3 separate regions of the Homo sapiens genome follow, and all the other regions are linked to region 1. Evidence: promoter capture Hi-C in 16 types of primary human blood cells and fetal thymus (Javierre and others, 2016). All regions are on one chromosome and are shown on one strand. Each heading gives the region's core, a stretch centred on a gene start or on the middle of the fragment in contact. The rest is flanking DNA. Distances are from core to core; before and after follow the strand shown. Region 1 holds the start of POU3F2 (POU class 3 homeobox 2). Region 2 has its middle 18 kb from the start of CCNC. Region 3 has its middle 16 kb from the start of PRDM13.

Region 1 (3,241 bases), core at 113-2,612:
CGGGCTTGCAGGCTCGGAAACTCGCAGGCGGCACCTGCTCTGGGCGGCTAAAGAACTGATGGCGCGACGCGCCCGCGCTCCGTAGAGCGGCGCTGCGGGTGCATGGTCCCATAGTCTTGCTCTGGAGTTCACTGCTGAAAGCTGAGCTGGGAGCTTGGCCAGGGAGCGCCAAAGACATAGACTAACCCCACCCGCTAGCGCCCACCGAAGTTACTGATTAGGAAGGTTCCCCTGGCATCAGCCCATTTGCTTCACACACTCTTCCTCCTTCCCAAGGGGCTAACGGAAAAGTTGCACCTACCAGCGGTAGGAGCACGGGGAATCGCGCACGCAGGCCCTCCGCGCGGCTTCCCGGAGCGGCCTTTGGCGACTGCGCCGCCCCTACAAGGCCGCACACCCCTCGCCAGCACTCCGGCAGCCTCGCACAAGACGGAGCCCACGCAGGCTTCTAGTTTTCTAAACCAAAAACTGCACGCGCCGGCGTGTGAATCTGACGGAGAGACTTTTAGAGTTTTGTTTGGTTTTCAGTTCAGACCGCTACGCTGTCAGAGCAAGCAACTCCGAGCCTTGATGGGAATGACTTACAAGCCGCGGTGCGGGCTGAGCCTGCCTCTCTCGGGGTTCTTTCCCCAAGGGAGTGGGAGACAATTGGGCCTGGAACCTAAAAGGAAGAGAGCCTGTGCTAGCCGCGGGGTAGAGGGGAAGGAGAAGAGCTTTGGGCCGAAGTGTCCGCACACCCTGGAGCAAGAGACACTTGTGCACTGAAATTCTAACCGTGGGATGCAAGGAGAGTTGAACAGGGGAACAGGTCTGGCTCTTGGCTCTAGGTTTAAGAGATACACACTGTGTGTGTGTCCCTAGGTGAATAAAAATCCGACTCCCGCTGGCTCGGTGCGACCCAGCTTTTCCCTTACCCCCTCCGTTTCCCCATCTTAAAGCCCTATTGGGAAACGAAAGTGGACACCACTGCCTCCCGCCCCCCACCCCAATCCAAGTCTTCCAAGTGTCTGTGGCCGATAAGAGCACCGGGACCGCCCCCCTGCCGGTCTTCTCTGCCTGGGAGACAGATGGGGGGCGGGGCCCATCCGAGAGAGGGCGGAGGAGGCCCCGGGTGAGGAAGAAGCGGGGGGGTGAGAACTGAGAGAATCTGAATCGGGAGGCGAAGGGGACGGGGAGGAGGGCTAGGAGGACTCCGAGCCCGGGGGAGGGGGAGGGAGTAGCTCTGCGCCAATCAGTGGCGCCGGCCTGGGAGGTTGCTAGCGGTATCCACGTAAATCAAAGGGCGCGGAGCCAATGGGAGGGGGCGGAGGGGGCGGGGCCCAGGCGCGTGCCGCTGCGAGCCGGCGCTGCCAAGAGAGCGGGAGAGAGCTGGAGAGAGCAGGGAGAGGGGGGAGCGCCGAGCTAGTCAGAGAGTGAGCGAGAGCGAGAAGGAGGGAGAGGAGGAGAAAGAGAGCGAGGGCGGGCGGGAGGCGGCGGCGGCGGCAGCAGCAGCAGTAATAGCAGGAGCAGCAACAGAAGGCGTCGGAGCGGGCGTCGGAGCTGCCCGCTGTGGGAGAGAGAGGAGACAGAAAGAGCGAGCGAGGAGAGGGAGCCCGAGGCGAAAAAGTAACTGTCAAATGCGCGGCTCCTTTAACCGGAGCGCTCAGTCCGGCTCCGAGAGTCATGGCGACCGCAGCGTCTAACCACTACAGCCTGCTCACCTCCAGCGCCTCCATCGTGCACGCCGAGCCGCCCGGCGGCATGCAGCAGGGCGCGGGGGGCTACCGCGAAGCGCAGAGCCTGGTGCAGGGCGACTACGGCGCTCTGCAGAGCAACGGACACCCGCTCAGCCACGCTCACCAGTGGATCACCGCGCTGTCCCACGGCGGCGGCGGCGGGGGCGGTGGCGGCGGCGGGGGGGGCGGGGGCGGCGGCGGGGGCGGCGGCGACGGCTCCCCGTGGTCCACCAGCCCCCTGGGCCAGCCGGACATCAAGCCCTCGGTGGTGGTGCAGCAGGGCGGCCGCGGAGACGAGCTGCACGGGCCAGGCGCCCTGCAGCAGCAGCATCAGCAGCAGCAACAGCAACAGCAGCAGCAACAGCAGCAACAGCAGCAGCAGCAGCAGCAACAGCGGCCGCCGCATCTGGTGCACCACGCCGCTAACCACCACCCGGGACCCGGGGCATGGCGGAGCGCGGCGGCTGCAGCGCACCTCCCACCCTCCATGGGAGCGTCCAACGGCGGCTTGCTCTACTCGCAGCCCAGCTTCACGGTGAACGGCATGCTGGGCGCCGGCGGGCAGCCGGCCGGTCTGCACCACCACGGCCTGCGGGACGCGCACGACGAGCCACACCATGCCGACCACCACCCGCACCCGCACTCGCACCCACACCAGCAGCCGCCGCCCCCGCCGCCCCCGCAGGGTCCGCCTGGCCACCCAGGCGCGCACCACGACCCGCACTCGGACGAGGACACGCCGACCTCGGACGACCTGGAGCAGTTCGCCAAGCAGTTCAAGCAGCGGCGGATCAAACTGGGATTTACCCAAGCGGACGTGGGGCTGGCTCTGGGCACCCTGTATGGCAACGTGTTCTCGCAGACCACCATCTGCAGGTTTGAGGCCCTGCAGCTGAGCTTCAAGAACATGTGCAAGCTGAAGCCTTTGTTGAACAAGTGGTTGGAGGAGGCGGACTCGTCCTCGGGCAGCCCCACGAGCATAGACAAGATCGCAGCGCAAGGGCGCAAGCGGAAAAAGCGGACCTCCATCGAGGTGAGCGTCAAGGGGGCTCTGGAGAGCCATTTCCTCAAATGCCCCAAGCCCTCGGCCCAGGAGATCACCTCCCTCGCGGACAGCTTACAGCTGGAGAAGGAGGTGGTGAGAGTTTGGTTTTGTAACAGGAGACAGAAAGAGAAAAGGATGACCCCTCCCGGAGGGACTCTGCCGGGCGCCGAGGATGTGTACGGGGGGAGTAGGGACACTCCACCACACCACGGGGTGCAGACGCCCGTCCAGTGAACTCGAGCTGGGGGAGGGGCAGAGCGCGGGGCTCCCCCTCCCCTTCGGTCCTTGGCCCTTTCCCGGCCCTCTTGTTCCCTCTCTAACTTCTGATTGTTCTTTTATTTTTAATTATTATTTCCCCGTCCCTTAAAAAGACAAAAAAAATAAGGCAAAAGGAAAGCAACTAAGACACTGGACTATCCTTTAAAGGTAGCAGGTGTAATGATGTGTTTTGACCTTTGCAGGCGAGTAACCAGGCAATGGA
Region 2 (3,312 bases), core at 279-2,778, 750 kb after region 1:
TATGATTTGCTTTATTCATGGTAAACTTACTGAAGTGTTCTGATTTGAAAGGTATGAGTTTATTATCATACATTTGTGGGTACAGCAAGTTTGTTAATTATGTGGTTAAATATTTTATATTCTTACTGATCTTTTTGTCTGCTTTTTTCTGTCAGTTACTATGAGAGGTGTGTTAAAATCTCTCTCTGAAAGAAAGAAAGAAAGAAGAAAAGAAAGAAAGAAAGGAAAGAAAGAGAGAAAGAAAGAGACAACCGTGAAGCTTGCTGCATCAGTGGACTCTTCCTTTCACAAAACATTTTTCTGTAGTATGCTATGCTGTTTGACAGCATTTTACTCACAGTAGAACTGCTTTCAAAATTGGAGTCAGTCCTCTCAGGCCTTGCCAATACTTTCTCAACTAAGTTTATGTAGTATTGTAATTCCTTTGTTGTCATTTAAACAATGTTCATAGCATCTTCACCAGGAATAGATTCCATCTCAAGAAACCACTTTCTTTGAGCATTTATAAGAGGTACCTCCTTATCTGTTCAAGTCTGATCATGAGTTGCAGCAATTCAGTCACATTTTTAAGCTGCACTTCTAGTTCTCTTGCTAGTTCCACCACACCTGCACTTGCTTCCTCTACTGAAGTCTTGCACCCCTCAAAGTGATATATGATGGTTGGAATCAACTTTTTCCAAACTCCTGTGAATAACATGTTGCTATTTTAGCCTCTTCCCATGAGTTACAAATTTTTTTTAACACTTTAACTTTTTTTTTTTTTTGAGACAGAGTCTTGCTCTATTGCTCAGGCTAGAGTGCAGTGGCACAATCCCAGCTCACTGCAACCTCCACCTCCTGGGCTCAAATGATCCTACCACCTCAGCCTCTGAGTAGCTGGGACTACAGGTGCATGCCACCATGACCAGCAAATGTTTGTATTTTTTGTAGAGATGGGGTTTCACCATTTTGCCCAGGCTGGTCTCGAACTTCTGTGCTCAAGCAATCCATCCACCTTGGCCTCCCAAAGTGCTGGGATTACAGGTGTGAGCTACCATACCCAGCCCACAAATGTTCTTAATAGTTATGACAAATGATGAATCCTTTCCAGAAGATTTTCCTTTAAAGTTTGAAGCCAGGCATTGATTTCTCTCTAGCTATGAACGTCCTAGATGGCATCTTTTTCCAATAGAAGGCTGTTTCACCTACATAGAAAATCCATTGTTAAGTATAGCTACCTTCATCAGCAATCTTAGCTAGATCTTCTGGTTAGCTTGCTGCAGCTTCTGCATCAGCACTTGCTGCTTCACCTCACACTTTTATGTTTTGGAGACCACATCTTTCCTTAAATCTCATGAGCCAACCTCTGCTAGCTTCAAACTTTTCTTCTGCAGCTTTCTCACCTCTCTCACCCTTCACAGAATTAAAGAGAGTTAGCGCTTTGCTCTGGAATAAGCTTTGGTTTAAGGGAATATTGTGGCTAGTATGATTTTCTATTCAGACCACTCAAACTTTCTCTGCATCAGTAATAAAGCTGTTCTGCTTTCCTATCACTTGTATGGTCACAGGAACAACACTTTTAGTTTTCCTCAAGAACTTTTCCTTTGCATTCACAACTTGGCTAATGGTTTGGTGTAGGAGGCCAAGCTTTGTGCCTGTCTTGTCTTTCCACATGCCTTCCTCACTAAGCTTACCATTTCTAGCTTTTCATATAAAGTGAGAGACTTGCAACTTTTCTTTTCACTTGAACACTTTTACTTTTCACCCTACACTTAGAGGCCATTGTAGGGTGTAGCTGACCTAATTTCAACACTGCTGTGTCTCAGGGAATAGGGAGGCCTGAAGAGAGGGGAAGTGATGGGGACTGCCAGTCGGTAGAGCAGTCAGAACACACACATTTATCAATTATGTTTGCTGACTTATATAAATATAGTTCATGGAACCCCAAAAGAATTACAACAATAACACCACAGATTACTGATCGCAGATCACCATAACAGATAAATGGCACCAATAGATGTACTCAATGCAGAGTCACCACACACTTTCCATTGTAAACAGCACAATATCTGTGAAACACAATAAAATGAAGTGTGGCTGTAGAATGCTGCAGCCAGGAAGTAATTCCAGACTGTGTGCCTAGAGTGTGTATGACTTCTATATTATACTGATAGTGCCAAGAAGGAACAAAGCAGGTATGTGTCAACATTGAACATATTAAGGACCAGCAAATAGCACACTTCCACAGGCCTTCCTACTGTGCTGAGCTGCTAATAGGTTGTCAATAGATATTTATTGGTTAAGTTTTAAAATTTTTTTTCCTGTTGCGGAATGGTGGGCAGGACGCTGAGCTAAGTATCAGACCCAGATGCTAACAAGGGCTCCTCTATTCACCAACCATGTGGCTTTGGATAAGTAACTTATCTGACGCTCATTAAAAAAATTAGAATAATAATAACTGCTAGGCCTACTTCCTAATATTGGGACTATGTATGGAATTCTTCAGAAAATGTGATTTAAAAAAAACAACAACAAATGAAAAGCTTTACAGACCCAAAATCTAAGTTCAAAGAGGCCCACTAGACAGGGTACCACACTTCTGAAAAAAAGCAGCTCAACCTCTTAATTACAGACAGTAAACCAAATTCCACATCCCAGTAAAAGTCTGGCTAATAACTCAGGAATCTTTCATTTGGTCTTACTTCCCTGAACTTATTTTCCTGACTTTTTCATCTGACTCCATCACCCCTCCACCCAAATTAATCAGTTTCCTTTACAAAGTCATTTTCAGGAGCTGAAGTGAAAAAAGTATGCCTCCCAGAGGTTAGAATCTCAGGGGCATTCTGTTCAAAGAACACAGGAAGAAATACTTTGTCCTTTTTCTCTTAACTCAGGCCTCACAGGTCTTTTTGAAAGCCAGAAGCTAAAGTGGCTTAAGAGAAAGCTAGAAGTATTGGGGTAGTGGTGTTCCCACTTCAGGGTGAAGTTGTCAGGATGTACCTGTTTTATGATTCTAGTTCCTTTGATTGGCAGTCCTTGAACTAAATTAAAAACAGAGAAAAGTTCATATGATTTAAACTCATGATGCTTCTTTGTGAAAAGGGAAAATGAGACATGTTGTTAGCCCCAGCATCTCTTTTGAGATGGGGGTTTTACTATGTTGCCCAGGCTGGCCTCAAACTCCTGGATTCAAACTATCCTCCCCCGTAGGTGGAATTACAGGTGCATGCTACCGTGCTTGGCTATGGGCTTGTTTTTAATTGTTGGACGGTCTGGGTGCCCCTTTCACTTTATTCTTTTTTTCCGCTCTCACTTTTTTTTCCTCTCACTTAT
Region 3 (3,084 bases), core at 448-2,947, 790 kb after region 1:
GGCTGGGGTGGTCTGAAGCTGCTCTATTGATGACAGAGCTGAGGGTGATCAGAAAGAGGGAAATACAAGGGCAAACTCAAAACAGAATGCTAGGCACATTGTCATCAGGAAAAAGTCGGGCTGAGGGAGAATCCCTGCAGACACAAGGTTGCAGAATGGAGCCAAACTTAAATAAGATGATTGAGATGCTCAGGTGAGGTGGTTCATGCCCATAATTCCAGCACTTTGGGAGGCCAAGGCAGAAAGATCACTCTGAGGCCAGGAGATCAAGACCAACCTTGGCAACATAACGAGACTCCTGTATCTACCAAAAAAAAAAAAAAAAAAAAAAAAAAGGTAGGTTTTGCATTCTAAATAAGAAATATACTCAATTTTCAAAGAACAAAACTGTCTAAATAGGTATCTATCTAGGAGTCTTAATCCAATCTCATTTCTGTGCACTTCTGTCAGCTCATAGGTAATCAACCACGGGTAGAGGTACCACGAAGCTCACTGGCGTGAAATCCTTATATAAGACCTTGATATGGTCTGGCTGTGTTCCAGCCAAATCTCAACTTGAATTGTGTCTGCCAGAATTCCCAAGTGTTGTAGGAGGGACCCAGGGGGAGGTAATTGAATCATGGGGGCCGGTCTTTCCCATGCTATTCTCATGATACTGAATAAGTTTCAAGAGAGCTGATGGTTTATCAGGGGTTTCCGCTTTTGCTTCTTCCTCATTTTTTCTCTTGCTGCTGCCATGTAAGAAGTGCCTTTTGCCTCCCACCATGATTCTGAGGCTTCCTCAGCCATGTGGAACTGTAAGTCCAATTAAACCTCTTTTTCTTCCCAGTCTCAGGTATCAGCAGCATGAAAATGGACAAATACAGACCAGTACCTAATTCTGTGTTTTATTTCTTAAAGTAGATCCCCCAAATTCTATGAATTTCAAAACCAAAAAATCTTGATCTATACTTGTAATCACTTATTTTAGTTTCTTGTATACATCTAGTTTTCTTTTTGTAAATACAAATATCCAAGAATGAATGTATTTTTATTTTCTTCCCTGTCTTAAATATTTAATATTCACTCTTCTGTATCCTGCTTTTTATTCAAATTAATATACTGTGGAGAAATTTTCCATGATAATTCAAAGAGAGCCTCCTCACTTTTTTTTTCTTTTATTGCTACATAGTACTCTATTGTGTAGATGTAGAAAGACAGATTTAACCAATTCTCCTGTTGATGACCTTTGGGTTGTTTTCAATCTTTTATTACCTTAAAGACACTTCAATGAATAACTTGTGTTAAGTGATTTTGTAGGTGGGCTGCAGGTGTGTTTCATAAGGTGCTACTGCTTTGATTGCAGTGAGGAAAGAGCTATTGAGGATGCTGAGCTGGCCAGGACAGTGTCAGAATCAGACCAGCGTCTGGGAGAGGGATGATTGGCTGACTGTTCAACTGGTCCTTCTCTCCATAGTTGGAAAACTCAGAGTTACCTTTAGCTCTTGATCATACTCTGTACATAGGGAGACAACAATGGGGCCTCCACCCCATTCTTTTGTTCTCTTGGGAATTTGGCAAAGGATCCTTGGGAGGCCTTAGCTATAGAACTGTACCTCTCCAGGCCTAGCAATATAGAAATCCTAATGTTGGGCTCACATGGGAAAAGAGTATGTTTGCATGCACATGCATTTGAACTTTTAGTTTTTTCCTGTGAACACTATCACCAAATTTTGATTTCCCAATGATGCATATTATTTAAAAATACCTTATGTAAAACCGTCTTTGGGATTATGATTCAGACTTGTAACTGGATGACTAGAGCCTGAGCCTATGGTAAGTAGCAGGTACTGAGCACAACCCACACCAGCTGTAGAATAGTGACAAGCACTCCAGTAGGGAAAAAAACAAATGCAAATGAGATGTACTTGGCCATGGAACAAAGATGAAAATGACATTCACTTGTAAATGAGTTTTCTGTGTTTGATGTAAACAGAATGACATGTATTTTGCAGGAAGACCTCTATGACCTTCGGACAGTTGTTGAGTTCATTACATGTAGCTGCACATGTTTCTGACATTTCATTATTATTAATGTATCTCATGATCTAACCGTCTCTAGGTTTTTAATTTATTTAGAAGCATTTCCACAATTTTCTGTCCTAGGAGATGATCTTAGAGTTAAGGTGAGATGCTCATCATTGAAAGGTTAAATGCCCTGGAACACAGCTTGAATCTGACACTTTGCTCTTGGATAAGGAAACAGCTGATCTGATAGAATTCAAGAGCAAGAGGAAGACAATCAACTTCTCAGCTTTGCCATTTATAGCTAACCATGGTCCCCAGCCTAAGCATTTGCTCAAACATTAGATTTAGATTATTGATATGTGGCTTTGCTTTCTGAGCCTTGTACATCTTTCGACCCCATTTAAAATCTTCTCTTTTCTCTATAGCCTTCCCTGACTGTCCCAGCCCAAAACTTTAATACATACATTAGACATAGTAGATACTCAACAAATAGTTGAGAATTAGTTGATTAAACATTCTTTATTTCTTACTCTGAACATTGATGAAGCACTGAGAGCCCACTACATGCCAGGCACAGCACTGGCTGGGGACATATGGATGATTAAGATGGTCTCAAGCCAGGTGCAGTGGCTCACGTCTGTAATCCCAGCACTTTGGGAGGCCAAGATGGGCTGATCCATTGAGCTCAGGAGTGTGAGACCAGCCTGGGCAACATGGCAAGAACCCATCTTTATCAAAAATAGAAAAAGTCGGGCATGGTTGTGTGTGCCTGTGGTGCCAGCTACTCAGGAGGCTGAGGTGGGAGGATTGCTTCAGCCCAGGAGGCAGAGGTCTCACTCTAGCCTGGGTGGCAGAGTGAGACCCTGTCTAAAAACAAAACAAAACACAAAACAAAACAGAAAGATTGTCTCAAGCTCATGGTCTAGTGGAGAAGGCAAACATAAGAACAGAAATTGATAACACAATGTGGTGGGTATAGTGATGGAGATGAACACAGAGGAAGGGTACCTTCTTAGAGAGAGAAGGGTGAGGGCAGGGAAGGAGTTATATAGGAAAAGGCCTCCTGGAGGATGCAAC

Evidence for each region. The method cuts DNA at HindIII sites, captures the fragments that hold promoters and counts their contacts. A CHiCAGO score of 5 or more calls a contact.
Region 2: a contact is called between a fragment that was not itself captured here and the fragment with the promoter of POU3F2 in region 1, in 2 of 17 cell types (total B cells and naive B cells). The highest score is 10.7, in total B cells.
Region 3: a fragment that was not itself captured here is called in contact with the fragment with the promoter of POU3F2 in region 1 in 1 of 17 cell types (total B cells); the score reaches 8.9 in total B cells.

The regions. Positions count from the first base shown.
Region 1 is chr6:98,833,212-98,836,452 of GRCh38, forward strand. POU3F2 (POU class 3 homeobox 2) reads left to right here and starts at 1,363. Exons shown (of 1, transcript NM_005604.4): 1 at 1,363-3,241. The coding sequence starts at 1,663. The coding sequence ends at 2,994. RefSeq lists a silencer at 1,304-1,373 and enhancers at 2,012-2,081, 2,080-2,676, 2,677-3,241. The HindIII fragment of the contact is 14,703 bases long and covers 1-3,241 here.
Region 2 is chr6:99,584,725-99,588,036 of GRCh38, forward strand. It overlaps the pseudogene TSTD3. Among named protein-coding and RNA genes, the nearest start is that of CCNC, 18 kb to the left of the region's middle. The HindIII fragment of the contact is 191 bases long and covers 1,434-1,624 here.
Region 3 is chr6:99,621,530-99,624,613 of GRCh38, forward strand. No RefSeq gene overlaps it. Among named protein-coding and RNA genes, the nearest start is that of PRDM13, 16 kb to the left of the region's middle. The HindIII fragment of the contact is 5,828 bases long and covers 1-3,084 here.